Regions from separate parts of the Homo sapiens genome. Here region 1 is linked to region 2. Evidence: promoter capture Hi-C in 16 types of primary human blood cells and fetal thymus (Javierre and others, 2016). All regions are on one chromosome and are shown on one strand. The core of a region is centred on a gene start or on the middle of the fragment in contact, and the rest is flanking DNA. Distances in the headings are between cores, read along the strand shown. Region 1 overlaps CDK18 (cyclin dependent kinase 18). Region 2 holds the start of TMCC2-AS1 (TMCC2 antisense RNA 1).

What was found. Contacts are between HindIII fragments. The CHiCAGO score rates a contact against its expected background, and 5 or more counts as called.
Region 1: a contact is called between a fragment that was not itself captured here and the fragment with the promoter of TMCC2-AS1 in region 2, in 2 of 17 cell types (naive B cells and total B cells). The highest score is 7.0, in naive B cells.

Annotation. Positions count from the first base shown.
Region 1 is chr1:205,516,860-205,523,572 of GRCh38, reverse strand. It overlaps CDK18 (cyclin dependent kinase 18), which reads right to left. Exons shown (of 16, transcript NM_212502.3): 2 at 276-426; 3 at 1-90. The coding sequence starts at 405. Among named protein-coding and RNA genes, the nearest start is that of CDK18, 16 kb to the right of the region's middle. RefSeq lists enhancers at 1,322-2,147, 5,363-6,062. The HindIII fragment of the contact is 168 bases long and covers 1,167-1,334 here.
Region 2 is chr1:205,234,010-205,240,939 of GRCh38, reverse strand. It overlaps TMCC2-AS1 (TMCC2 antisense RNA 1), which reads left to right and starts at 3,649. Exons shown (of 3, transcript NR_183258.1): 1 at 3,649-3,756; 2 at 3,982-4,435; 3 at 6,797-6,930. All of the region lies in intron 1 of TMCC2 (transmembrane and coiled-coil domain family 2), which reads right to left. The HindIII fragment of the contact is 7,142 bases long and covers 3,414-6,930 here.

The DNA of each region.
Region 1 (6,713 bases), core at 1-2,500, 290 kb before region 2:
AGAGCTGCCCCGGCTCCTCCCCGCTGTCTGTTGGGGAGAAGGTGCTGCACTCCTGCGGGGGGTCTCTGCCAAGAGGACCGAGCTGCAAGTCTAAGAGGGACAGGCGTCAGCTCCCCTCCCTGCCTCTCTGTCCTGAGGGAGAGAAGGGTAGCCCCCCTCCCCCAGCGCTGTGCTCCTCCCCTAAGGCCAGTGGGGAGGGGGTGGGCGGGGAGGGGAAGGTGACTGGGGAGTGTCTGGTAGGTGGGAGAGGTGCTGGGTGGGCCCAGACCCCTCACTCTCATTCCGCCGGTTGTGGAGCTGGTTGAATTGCTCCGTGAATTCAGCCAAGGATTCTTCAATGGTCTCAGTGCGGGGCACTGACAGGGAGAAACGGCGCTTAAAGTTCTTCATCTTGTTCATGATCATGAGGGACTGGGCAGCCGGGTCCTGAGATGGGAAGTGTGAGAAGAGCAGTTGAAAAGAACAAGGCAACCAGTCCAGGTCTCCACCCACTGGGAATTCAGCTCTCTCATCAAGCTCTGTCGCCCTGTATGCCACCATCACTGGGAGCCAGGGTTGTGTCTTCTGCAAAGTTTGACCCCTCTGAGGGTGGGTGTTCACCCTCTTCTTCCCAGTCACCTTCTTCCTCCCAGTGACCCTCAGCACTGCCTCCACTGCCCACCGCCCGCCCCGCCACGCCCTGTGCAGTTCTCTATGGACCACCTAGTCCAGCAAAGTATTGGTCATAATAGCAGGCATGATGTGCAAAGAGGATCCTGAAGGCCCCCCAGACCTAAGCCCTTTAGCTGCTGGAGGTCTAGAGAGTTCTGGGGGAAGGGCTGGGGTGGCAGGGAGGGTGCCAGAACCAGGCAGTCCTTGGACCAGCAGAAATTTACCAACTTGTGTCCAAGGGCCTGAATGTGTCAACAGCCAATAAATCTTACTGACCAAGGCCCGTAAACTGAATGTCAGCTTGGCCAACACCCTTGGGACATGATTGGGTCCAAACCTCATTTCACCTCTGATACTGACACCTGAAGGTCTCTGCTCTGGCATGCCCCAGGAGGCAAGAGGGGAAAAAGAGGAGGAAGGGAAGAGTGCATCAGAGCTGGCCAGCTGCACCTTCTCTCCAGCTGAAATACAGGAGGTCAGGAGCAGTGGAAGGTCTCAGGGGAAACACGGAAGCTTGCCATTAATAGAGTCGAGCCCTAGGGAAGATGAGGCTTGATCCCTGCAGGCCTCTTCCCATGCCAGAGCCCTCCAAGCAGGCAGGTATCCCCTACCGAGAACACCATGGAGGAGCGGGGTAAGCTGCTCTGCCCACCCCCACGGTCCTGTCCCCAACCATGAAAGCTTTCTTCTTCAGGCTACCCAGCTCCTCGTGCCCTCTGAATTAGAGGATGCCCTGCTGGCCACCCAATGAGACCCATGCAACTGCTTCTTCCTGCAGACCCTCCCTTCTCCCTCCTGCCCTGAAAACCCAGAGCAGCGCTGTCTCACCTCCCCTCCACTTCCCTTCATGGTTTCCTACACGCTCAGTGCAGCCCCCCTCTCATCCTGCTCTGCACACACTGCCCTTGAGGCCTCACAAGGGCTTCCACCCATGCTGGCAAGAAGGCACCAGGGGGTGAGCCCTATGATGGGCCGCCCTGCACCCGCTCCCAGCTGTTACCCATGCACCAGCACCAGGCACAGCCCACTCCTGGAGGATGCTCTCAGCCCTGCGACTGGCCAGCACCTAGTTGCCAAGGCGACCAGGCCCTTCCCGAATCCTCCTGGTTTAAGGGATTATGGGTCAGTAACATGTTGGCTTTGCTTAATGATCACATCCTTCTGTCCTCAGCCAGCCTGGAAAGGGTCCTCTGTCTGGCAGCGCATGCTCCTGGCTGCCCCCAAACACAGCTCAGTGGTGGCCCTCCAGCTGCCCTGATCCTCATGGCTGGGTATGAACAAGCTCTCCTTCATTCCTTTAGCGGGCTGGCACCTTTCAGAGTGGAGGCCTCGGGTCTGCAGTGCTAGGCAGGCCCATCTCTGTCAGTGGGCCCTGAAGTCTCACTCAGTTCCACTGAACAAATGAACTGGCCGGGCATGGTGGCTCATGCCTGTAATCCCAGCACTTTGGGAGGCTGAGGCAGGTGCATTACTTGAGGTCAGGAGTTTGAGACCAGCCTGGCCAACATGGCGAAACCCTGTCTCTACTAAAAATACAAAAAAATTAGCTGGGCATGGTGGTGTGCACCTGTGATCCCAGTTACTTGGGAGGCTGAAGCAGGAGGATTGCTTGAACCCTGGAGGCGGAGGTTGCAGTGAGTGGAGATTGCGCCATTGCACTCCTGCCTGGGCGACAGAGCAAGACTCTGTCTTAAAAAACAAACAAACCAAAAAACTGAGCACCTACTATGCGCCAGCATTGTGCCAGGCATGAGGGTTTCAGAGGCAAGTAAAGGGTGGTCCCCATTCTCAAGAAACTCAGGGGCTGGTGATGCCTCCTTTGATGAGAAGGTAGCTGAAAGCGCTTCCTCTGGCTTCCTTGGCAGAGCCCACCAGCCTTGGACTTTCCTGACTCCCCATCCCTAAACTCCTTCCTGTCAGTCATCTTCAGCCGCTCCTCCGTGGCTCTGTGCAATGTCTCAGGCCTGCTGTCTGCAGGACTCTTGCAGACAGGAAGCTTCCAGAGGGCAGCCACCATGCCTCACACTTGTGTATAGCATTCAGGCCACAGAGATCTAATCTGGAGGCTTCATGATGGTGGCAGGGGGTGTGGGTCCCAGTGACAAGAGGACCCAGACACACCTACCTGGTGACTCCCATTTCCGAGCAAGATAGGAGAGTGGAGATGGCTCCTTGTAAAGATCAATTATTTTCTTTTTTCCTTTTTTCTTTTTTTTTTTTTTGAGATAGAGTCGTGCTCTATCACCCAAGCTGGAGTGCAGTGGCGTGATCTTGGCTCACTGCAACCTCCACCTTCCGGGCTCAAGCGATTCTCATGCCTCAGCCTCCTGAGTAGCTGGGATTACAGGCCCGCGCCACCACACCCGGCTAATTTTTGTGTTTTCAGTAGAGACAGGATTTCGCCATGTTGGCCAGGCTGGTCTCGAACTCCTGACCTCAAGTGATCTGCCCCTCCTCGGCCTCCCAAAGTGCTGGGATTACAGGCATGAGCCACAGCACTCAGCCAATTATTTTCAAAGATAGCTGAACATCAGAATCACCAGGGAGCATTGTAAAAAAATTCAGATTCCTAGGTCTCACCCTGAGATTCTGGAACTGAGGTTCTGAGAATGGTGCCTGGGAAAATGCATTTGAAAAAACATCTCCAATGATGTACACCTGGAGCGGTGACCAGGAAAACATCTAAGGTCCAGGTCAGGGACAATTATCTGCCCAGGCTTCCAGGCCACCCTCCTGTGCTGAGACGGGGGATCCTCAGAGCAGGGAAGGGAAGCAGGAGGCCCCCCACAGGAGAGGAAGTCTCTCTGTCCTGGAAGCCAGTGCATCTCCACCACACCAACTGATGTCCCCAATGTCCCCGTGCTTTGTCATGGTTGTTCTCTGGGGGTGGGGAGAGGCAGGCACTTGGCTCCCTGAGGTCTGAGCTCTGCCAGGAGGGAGACCAGCCACACCCCTTTCTAAAAACAGGGCTTCCCCATAAAACCGTCCTGCAGTCTGGGATTTATGGGATGGCATGTTGGATTTGCGGCTCAGGAATCTACAAGTAGCAACCATAAATCTCACACCCTTGCTCTTGCTTGTAGGGTGAGGGGAGGGGAGCTCATTAAAAGCCTCCGGGAAGGAGGCCCCCCATTTCTGCAAGACAAAAGAGATTCAGCCCTGAGTCACACCTGCTCTCCCTAAGGTTCAGTGAGGAGCAAGGAGCCACCAGCCTGTGCCTGGGGTGGGGAGGACAGTGGGGCTGGGAGCTGGAGGAAGGGTGAGGCCAGAGGCAGCTGACTGGAGCAGGAATGTGGGGCCAAGCAGTGCAGGCGATGGGGACCAGCTGTTCTCCACCCGCAGGACAGGAGCCTGAGAGGAAGTGGCTGTCACAGCAGCAGAAGGGATGGGGGTCAGATGTAGGATGGATTTCCTGATGGAAGGATGGAGGTCAGATGTAGGATGGACTTCCTGATGGAAGGATGGAGGTCAGATGTAGGGTGGACTTCCTGATGGTGACAGGGGAGCAGGCGGTGGGGGTGGTGACCACAGCAGAGTGGATGTCTCTCTCTGCTGGGGACAACCAGGGCATTGAACCCAGCAGGGTCTTGGGTGTGACAGGGCAGACTGGGCAGTGAATAGTCTGTTGTTCCCTAGGTCAAGACACAAGATGCCTCTGTCATTTTTCCCTTGGGAGAGTCAGCTCCTCAGATTTGGGGGTCGAGGGGGAAGGGAGACAGGAAAAAGGCCTGTCACCTTAGTGCTATCTACCCCTCACCCCCAAGTGGGGACAGAAGGGCTCAGTATGACCAGCCTGAGGCCAGCCCGGGGCCAGGCACAGCACAGCCTTTGTCCCCAGACCAAGGAGCCATCTGGGGCTGTCCCCGTGCAATTGGTGCCAGGGGAAGAGGGCGATGAGTGTCCAGGGATACTGGCCCGGCAGTGGGGGGTGGAGGAAGTTGAAGGAGCAGAGTCCCACTGAGGAGCTGCAGGGTGGGCAGGCAGACCCCAGCCAACCTCCCCTCCCACCTCCCTGCCCAGGTAAGTCATAAAGCTCAGCCAGCTCCAGTTGCTTCTTCCCAGGGACACAGCAGCCGGCCCAGAACCTCCTGCTGGTGCCAGAGCCATGGGTGGCACAGAAGGAGGAAGGAGGAGCCAGGCTGGGAAGAAAGCCAGCACTTGCCAGAGGCCACTGTGCCCCCAGTGAGCAGGGCTGGCCTCCCAGAATGTTAGCAGGGGAAGACGCTCACACAGCCTCCATCCCCATCCCTTGCCCAGTGAAGATGCTGAACATCCAAGAGGGGAAATGGCTTGCCCAGAATCACGCAGCAATTTCCTGGTTGTTGCCAAGTGCACAAACGTGACCATATTGCTCCTTTCTTCTCCTACCTGGAGCCCTCCCCGCCCTTGCCCCTTCCCTGTGGCCCAGGCTTGACTGTTTTCTCCTACTCTGAACTGCGTGCCAAACAAACTCAGTTTCAAACTTTGGTGCTACCACTAGCAGGCTATGGAATCGCAATGACGTGATAAAACCCCTCTCACCCCTGGCTCCATTCATTCATTCAACAATTATTGAACACCTGCTGCATGCCAGGCACTGTTGTAGACCCTGAGAATCCACAGATGAATGAAACAGACATTAATTCCTTTCCTAATACTTTCTAACAGGGGTAGGGGGGTGCGGACAATAGACAGAATGAATACACAGTATGATGGATGGTGACAAGTGCAATGATGGGAATTCATGCAGGGAAGAGGGAAGGTGTGGGAAGTGCAGTTGCAAGTTTAAGTAGGGTGGTCAAGAAGGCCTCCCCAAGAAGCAGGTGACATCTCAGGAGAAATCCAGAGTAGGTGTAAGGTGAGGGGGTCAGTCATGCAGGGTCTGGGAGAAGCAGGTCAACAAGGGAACAGCAGGGGCAAAGGTCCTGAGGCAGAAGTAAGTCTGGTTCACTGCAGGACAATGATGTGGCTGGAGAAGATGCTGGATGGGAGTGCGGAGCAGCTGTGTTGGGCCTCGAGGGGTAAGGAGGGTTTGAACGGATGAGTGACATGATCACACTGAGGCTTTAACACGCTGCTGTGTTGAGAACAGACAAGGGGAGCAAGGGGAGAGCAGGGAGCCCGGGCAGGAGGCTGCTGCTGAGGCCCAGGGGAGAGAGCTTGATGGTGGCTGGGACCAGCGGGGGGCAGTGGAGATGGTGAGAAGTGGCTGGATTTGGGCTATATTTTGAAGGTGGAGGCAAAGAGCTCTGCAGATGGATTGTATGTTGTGGGTGAGAAAAGAGTCAAGCATGACTCTGCAGCAGGGTTTTCGCCAAGCAGCCGGAGTGGAGAGATAGAACAGTCACTGGAGGAGACAAGGCATTCTGGGAGTAGTGGTTTCAGTGGGAAGACCAGGAGTTGGATGTTGGGCAGGTGACATTTTCAACGTACAGTGGTATCTGAGCAAACATGCTGGGTGAGCCAACACAACACACCACTGGCACAGGGAAGATGTCCAGCAAAGCTTGGCTCTCCTCTCTCAAGCTACTGCCCAGACAAAAAGAGTCCTCATATAAACTTCATCAAACATCCCTGCAGACTTCCTTATTGCAAGGTGCTTTTGGATCCCAGGATGGAAGAGGGCCAGGAGACAGGGAGCAGGATCATCTCTTGGCAGATGTGAGGGGGAGAAGGGCCAGGGAGGCAGGGTCCCCCCTACTTAGACAACTGCAGGGCCACGCAGGGTGGGGCCCGTGCAAGGCAGGGAACCCCGGCTACTGGCAGACAAGCCCCATCTTCTCTCTTAGGAGGAAAGAAAGCTCCACAGAGCAGGCCAGGCCAGCCCCAGGGCCCCAGTGTCCAGACAGGGCAGATTCCCAGCCCACTGACTGCTGGGACAACCTGTGCCAGGCCACAGACCTAATACCTGCCTTGGGGCTGGACCCCTGAGAGACCTTGACCTGGAGACCATGGAGGTGGAGAAGGAGGTTGACAGAGCATCCCAGGAATCTGGGATGCTGTAGACTGGAGGGCGGGAAAGTCAGCTTCACTTCTCAAGCTCCTGGGGCCAGGACTGGAGTCTTCTCTCAGCAAACCCCTTC
Region 2 (6,930 bases), core at 2,400-4,899:
CTGCAAGGACTTAACTCACCTTGCTAAAAATTCCTGCTTCATCAGACTCCCCTTGCAGCTAGGAGTAGCCACATGACACAGTTTGGGCCAACGAAAAGCAAGGTGAGAGCTTCTGGGAGCACTTTTGCTTTCCTGATAAAGGCACTGGCCCTTCCCAAATCTTCCCATCTGGAATGGGAACGTAGTGCCTGGAGATGCAGTGGCCATTCTGCAACCACAAGATGACATGGTTGACGATGAGGGTCTGCACACAGATGGTGGAGCCCAAGGGACAGGCCTGGGAACTTGAAGGTCTATGGAGCCACCAAACCAGTTGTGAACATCTATCCTGGGATTCTTGTTGCATGAAATAAACCCATCTTTGTCTACACAACTCTAGTATGATTTTCTGTTATTTGCAACCAATTTCATTCCTGATATGGTTGGCAATGAAATAAACTTTACTTCTATGAGCAAACCTTGTGACATAGTAATGTGACCAATTCTTTAGCATACACATCAGAACAAGCTATCCAAATGAGTGTCTTTCCCCTTAGATCCAAAGCATAGAGGCACTGCAACCCGGTGCCGCCCAGGCCACAGCCTTTCCTCTTAGCCCTGTTGCTGAGATTCTCCAGCTGCTCTTCCGGCAAGACTGCTCACAGAGGGGCAGCTGGATGGCCTGCCAGGGCGAGCAACTGTGGTATAATTCCAGACAGCTGCTTCTGTCAGGGGACGGCTTATCCGGCCAGGTTGAGCCCTCTATGAGAGCTTTGGAGCTGTTGGAAGGAGGGGTGAGACTTGGAGGACCAGGAGACACCTCACATTCTGCAGCTCCTTAGAGGAAAACTCAGGGCCCAGCCATTTGGGACTCAATGAGCCATAGCAGGATTTCCTGTGAGGAACAACCCACAATCTTACCAGGCTGCCTCAGTCATTTAAAAAATGTTCCAAAAAATTACACAGACTGGATTTTCTTTTTTTTTTTCCCTAGAAACAAACTTACAGAGCAGAAAATCTAGACCATATAGAAACCAAGAAAAAGCAACCTGACATCCTCTAAATGAGCTGACCCCACTCTTAGGTTACTTTACAACTCAGCCTTGAGTTTGTGCAGATGGCTGCGCTTACAGCTGGATACAATAACTGTACTATTATGTATTTGTGTAAAATTTTAGGATTTTCATTTTTCACCTCATTTGAGTATCCCCAGAATCCTTAAAGTAGATGAGGCCCTTACATCACCCATTTTACAGACCAGATAAATTACATCATCACAACTCATCACGAACTAACGGTTTTTCATTTCAAAGGAGATTTGTATCCTGCATTATCCCATTGATTCTCCTAAATAGTAACAAAAGCAACAACGGAAACATCTCCATTTAGAGAAGAGGAAATTAAGGCTACCATGATTCCTTCTCAAGAACTGAATTCTGGGGCAGCCCTCGAGATCTTAAGTTACACAATGCCAGCTTTTCCCACAGGAGTTACCATCCCCTGGGGGCCAGCTTGAGGCAGGGTCACAAGGCTCACCTGAATCTGTGCTGGGGAGAACCAAGATGTCAACTCTGCCATGGACTTGGAACAGGCCAGATCCTGCAGCCTTCAGACCAGGGACCTGCCAGGACACCTCCCCCTTCCCCAGGCCCAAGCTGATGTGAGACCTCCCTCCAGACACTGTGATGGGGCCAGCTGGCTCTGGCATTTGCCCAGCTGCCTCTGCCAAATCGTCACATTCCATAATACGAATTGTCTTTCTAGCGTTCTATTCCAGGTCCCTTCCTCTTCTCCCCCCATTCCTAAACTGGCTTCTCCAACACTGAGGATCCACTCAGGCAGAAAGAGTTTCCCTTCTAAAGACTTCAGCAGAGGTCCTAGAGTTCTGAGGCATTTCCTCTCCCCTATCCCCGGGAGGCTGGTGGAGGTGCTGGGGAGAGCTACGGTGGCCACCGATGTCTGCCATATTGCCTTGGAGCCTAAAATCCTTGGTCAATTTACTTTTAAAATTTATACAACAGCATTTTGCAAAGTGCGTTCCGATTTATACTGTCATTATAATCTGACACTAGCCTAATCTCAGGAGCTAGGAATGTGAGATGTCACAGCATCAGTGTCTATTTTGCAGATGAAGAAACGGAGGCACAGCATAGCTAAGTGGCTCATCCAAGCCACACAGAGAAACCCCCGACTTCTAATTGAATTTACCTTCATGGGCCCATACACTGATTTCAAGACTTAAGATTTAAAGTAGATAGGGTATTTGCATGTGTCCCAGAATAGTATCAGAGGCAGGCGCCAAACAAAAATGCCTGGGTCAAGGGTTGTTAGGTCCCCTGAACTGCTGTTGTGACCTGCCCATCCCATGTTATGGGACAAGACCCTCAACTATAAAGTCTTTACTTCCCACCTCCCTGAGCTGTCCTGCAGCTGAAGGAAACCTAGGGAAAGTGACCAGGAGACCCCAGGACCTTTGTCCCAGCAGACCGAGGAATCTATTAAAGTCTGAGGCAGGCAGGAGGGAAATAACAAAAAGGAAGTCAAAGAACAAGGTGCAGAGAGAGGAGATTACTCCAAATGAAGGGGTTTTTCCTCACTGATAAGGTGCGAGGCGGGAACAGCAAAGTGACGCAAGGGCTGGGCCGCTTCTGCATGTGGGTGTCAGGGAGGAGATGGTTAAGGAGTTTTGACATAACACAGTAAGTGTTTTAAAAAAAAAAAACTCAGCACATACACATAACCAGCTACAAGTTTCAGAAGTGAGGAAAACCATGGTGACTAGCTTAAGGGAACTTAGCCGCCAACGCAGCAGAAAGCACCACCTGCTCTGACTAACAGGTTCCAGCTCCTAAAATGTCACTTGCTTTTCCACATTGACTTTTGCTTTTCCCTGGCTGCCAGAAACCATTTTGGTGGCCAAATGAAGCCATGCATTAGAGAGCTGAGATGCTTCAGAGTTAGAGGTGGCAAACAAACAGGGCTTTCATGATCTGTAAGACCGAAGCAAGAAGTGCCGTCCCCAGAACTGGCCATAAGGTAGTCAGAAAGGAGAGCCTCCCAGGGTGAGGTGCCCCGGGGAAGGAAGTGAGGGGAGTTGGCTGTCCCTCCCCTGGAACTATCTGAAAGGGCAGGAAGAGCCCCATCTCCTTGGGTGGCACTGTCCTTTCAGGAAAAAAGGGAGGACTAGATGGCTTCTGAAAGATCCTTCCTGAGAAGGCTGTGGTTTCTGAACAGTTGGGCTTCATCCGTCTTTCTCCCTGGGTGTGGGTCCCCCAAAGGGGAAGTTTGCTCCAAAATCTGCAAACACAGCTGCATGAATACAAAACTAAAATGCCTTGGGGTACAGTGTCATTGGCACCATCTGGTTAAAAATGACCAAAAGTGGTTTCTAATTTTTACAGGTACGTGTGTTCTCAACAAATCCCAGGAAAGCTTAAAGTCACACTAATCTATAGCTAATTATCCCACCTGGCAGCTGACTGCATAGCCCTTCCTCCTACCTGGGTTTGAAACTCCTTCCGCCCTACCAACAGTTTGGCTGTGAGGGTTCAGTGGGGTGACTGGGTCACCCTGAGCCTTTGCCAGCCTAGGTCGCCAACATTCCTCTATTTATAGGGTCTCTATGGAAACAGGGCCAGCATTAGAGAACTAATCACTGTAAAAACCCACAGAGTTCTACTCTTAGGATCCAAAGTGGATTGAAGAAGTCTCCAATTGCCCTTAAGAAGCTCTGGGTGGGGAGCCTGAGTGGGAGCAGGAGAGGAACCATTACCCCAGGTTTGGCGCTGATGATCACAGTGGTGTACAGTAGGCAGCTGCAACTGTTCAGGCCCACTTGGAGTTTCTACTGGAAACCCAGTGATGAAAGATTTTTGGAATCATTTATTTATTCCCCAGCCTCACAGATGAAATTTTAAAAAAAAAACTCAACTCATGGGCACACGGGCAAAAAATTCCCCCATTCTCAATTTTATTTTGATTCCTCTTTCCTTTATTGCTTAGAGAATTCAGCCTGGAGCCAAAGCAAGTGGGAAAAGGTCACCTCATCCACCATGTCTTTAGGCAGAACTGATTCAGCACACACCAACATAGAAGACTTTTATTAAAGTTCCCAGCATGGCGTGCCCTCTCTCTGCCTCTTTGCATCCTACCCATCCTTCACCACCTCGCCACTCCATAAAGCCCTCTCTGATCACACCAGTCTGCAGCGATCTCGCCCTGCTCTGAACACATAAGCGCTCATTATCTGCACCACTCATTTTGCAATTAATCGTGTACTGCCTTGTGACATCGCTTCTAGTGCTTTGTCTGACTGTTATCCAACTTCTCACCTGCTGACGGATGGAACCCTTGATGACAATATGAGTGACTGGACAGCAGGAGCTACAGCTCCTACATCTCTGTGTCCCTAACATTACCTGGCAGAGGCCTCAACACCAACATGGAAGACAGCTAGGTAAATTATTTGTTCATTTATTTTCTGAGCAGCCACTATCCAAGTCTCTACAAATCCATCTTACAAAGGTGATTTTAATCCTTAGATGACTACCTTTTCCAAAGACATAACCTTTCACAAAGATTTCAAATGCTCCAACAGCCTTTTCTTGTGTCTAACTCAGATTTCTCCTGCTGCAGTTTAAACCCTCTTCTCACTCTATTATCTTAGTAACCGCCAAGATTGAGTTGGCTTGGAAGGAGATGAACACAGACCAAGGAGCCAGAATGTATGTGATGTCTTCACAAATGGCTTAGGGAGGGCTTGGGAGGGGGCTCATGTCCTTACAGCCAGATTTGTTTTCCCTGGTGGACATCACTCAGTTAACCTGGCTGGAATAAGGAAGCCTTTAGTCATTTGGTTTAAAAATAACTGTTCTTTTTTTTTTTTTTTTTTTGAGACAGAGTCCTGCTGTGTCGCCTAGGCTGGAGTGTAATGGCGTGATCTCCGTTCACTGCAACCTTTGCCTGCCGGGTTCAAGCAAATCTCCTGCCTCAGCCTCCCGAGCAGCTAGGACTATACGGGCACACCACCATGCCTGGCTAATTTTTTGTATTTTTAGTAGAGACGGGGTTTCACCATGCTGGCCAGGCTGGTCTCGAACTCCTGACCTCGTGACCCCCCTGCCTCGGCCTCCCAAAGTGCTGGGATTACAGGCGTGAGCCACCGCGCCCAGCCAAATAACTGTTTTTCTAGCACAGTCACAAAACATACCTGTTATCCCCCAACAGCTTTGTTCTAACTTCTTACACGAAGAGAGACTTAAGTGTTTGGCTGACAAAGGTGGACCCTGTCCAGCTATGGCCTCATTCCAAAAATGTAGCATGCTAGTAGTCTATGGGGATTTCAAAGGCAGATGCCATTTCTTAAGGGAGAGATGAAAACAGAAATGAGTTCTGAGTTGGCCTTTAAGACCACCACTGAGAAGCTGCCTGAGCCCTTTTCCCCAGCTCCTGATAACCCCACACTTTGAAAACTTCAGCCCAAAATTTAGGTCCTATCAGATATTTCAACTCCTTGCTGAAGGAGATTCTTGTTAATGGGATTGGCAGTGAAGACATAATTAGATACACAAAAAGAAGCACATTCTGTAAATACTGAGCCTGCCAGACAGTTCCCACTAGAACAACTAGGGCAGCTGGGAATTAATCTAGAACTCAATATGTGGCAGGAGAACAGGGAGTTTCGTTTGCCACATGCTTTCCCATCGGTCACCAGTTCCCCCAGAGCCCACATAGAGGGCTGCTCTGAATATTACCTAGGCTGGAGGGGGTGGGGGGGAGGCAATCCTGGGCCTTCCAACCCTCTGCCTGCTTCATATAAGGTGCAAGCGGGACAAAACAGTTAACTTCAGCATTTGCACTACCCTCCATTGTTCCTGATCATTCTAGTCAAACAGGGCAAAGACCCTACAAAAGCACTTGCTACCTCACTTCCCCCATTTAGAAAGCCCCTCTTCTCTTGTTTGGTAATAAATGTCCCACCCCTTCTTTAAAATCTTGCTCTAGGCCGTGCGCAGTGGCTCACGCTTATAATCCCAGCACTTTGGGAGGCCGAGGAGAGTGGATCACCTGAGGTCAGGAGTTTCAGACCAGCCTGGCAAACATGATGAAACCCCATCTCTACTCAAAATAGAAAATTAGCCCGGTCTGGTGGTGCATGCCTATAGTCCCAGCTACTCGGGAGGTTGAGACAGGAGAACCGCTTGAACCCGGGAGGCAGAAGCTGCAGTGAGCCAAGATTGCGCCACTGCACTCCAGCCTGAGACAGAATGAGATTCCATCTCAAAAAAAAAAATCTTGCTCTAAACCCACCTCTTGCAGAACAACTTTCCTGATTAACCCCCATAAGTTTCTGATTGCACTGCATGATGCTCTAAGTACCCTTTAACTTCTATGTATTTCCATGATGGTTTTCTTAGAAGTATTTCATCCTATTTGACCTGGAGATCAGCTGGAGGTGAGGCCAAATAACTAATTTCCCATTTCCTTTTTGTTTGTTTGTTTTGTTTTTTATTTTTGAGACAGAGTCTCGCTCTGTCGCCCAGGCTGGAGTGCAGTGGCACGATCTCGGCTCACTGCAACCTCCGCCTCCCAGGTTCAAGCAATTCTCCTGCCTCAGCCTCCAGAGTAGCTGGGACTACAGGTGCCCGCCACCATGCCTGGCTAATTTTTCTGTATTTTTGGTAGAGATGGGGTTTCACTGTGTTAGCCAGGATGGTCTTGATCTCCTGACCTCATGATCCACCCATCTCGGCCTCCCAAAGTGCTAGGATTACAGGTGTGAGCCACCACGCCTGGCCTCCCATGTCCTTGTTTTTAGGTATACTTCAATTCTACCTCCTCTGATAAAACTTATCCCAGGCGTCCGGCTCCCACCTGAGATTGCAGGAATCTTCAAGCCTTAACATATCTACTGGGCCTCAAGATGCAGCAGGCCCTCAGAGAGCCATCGCA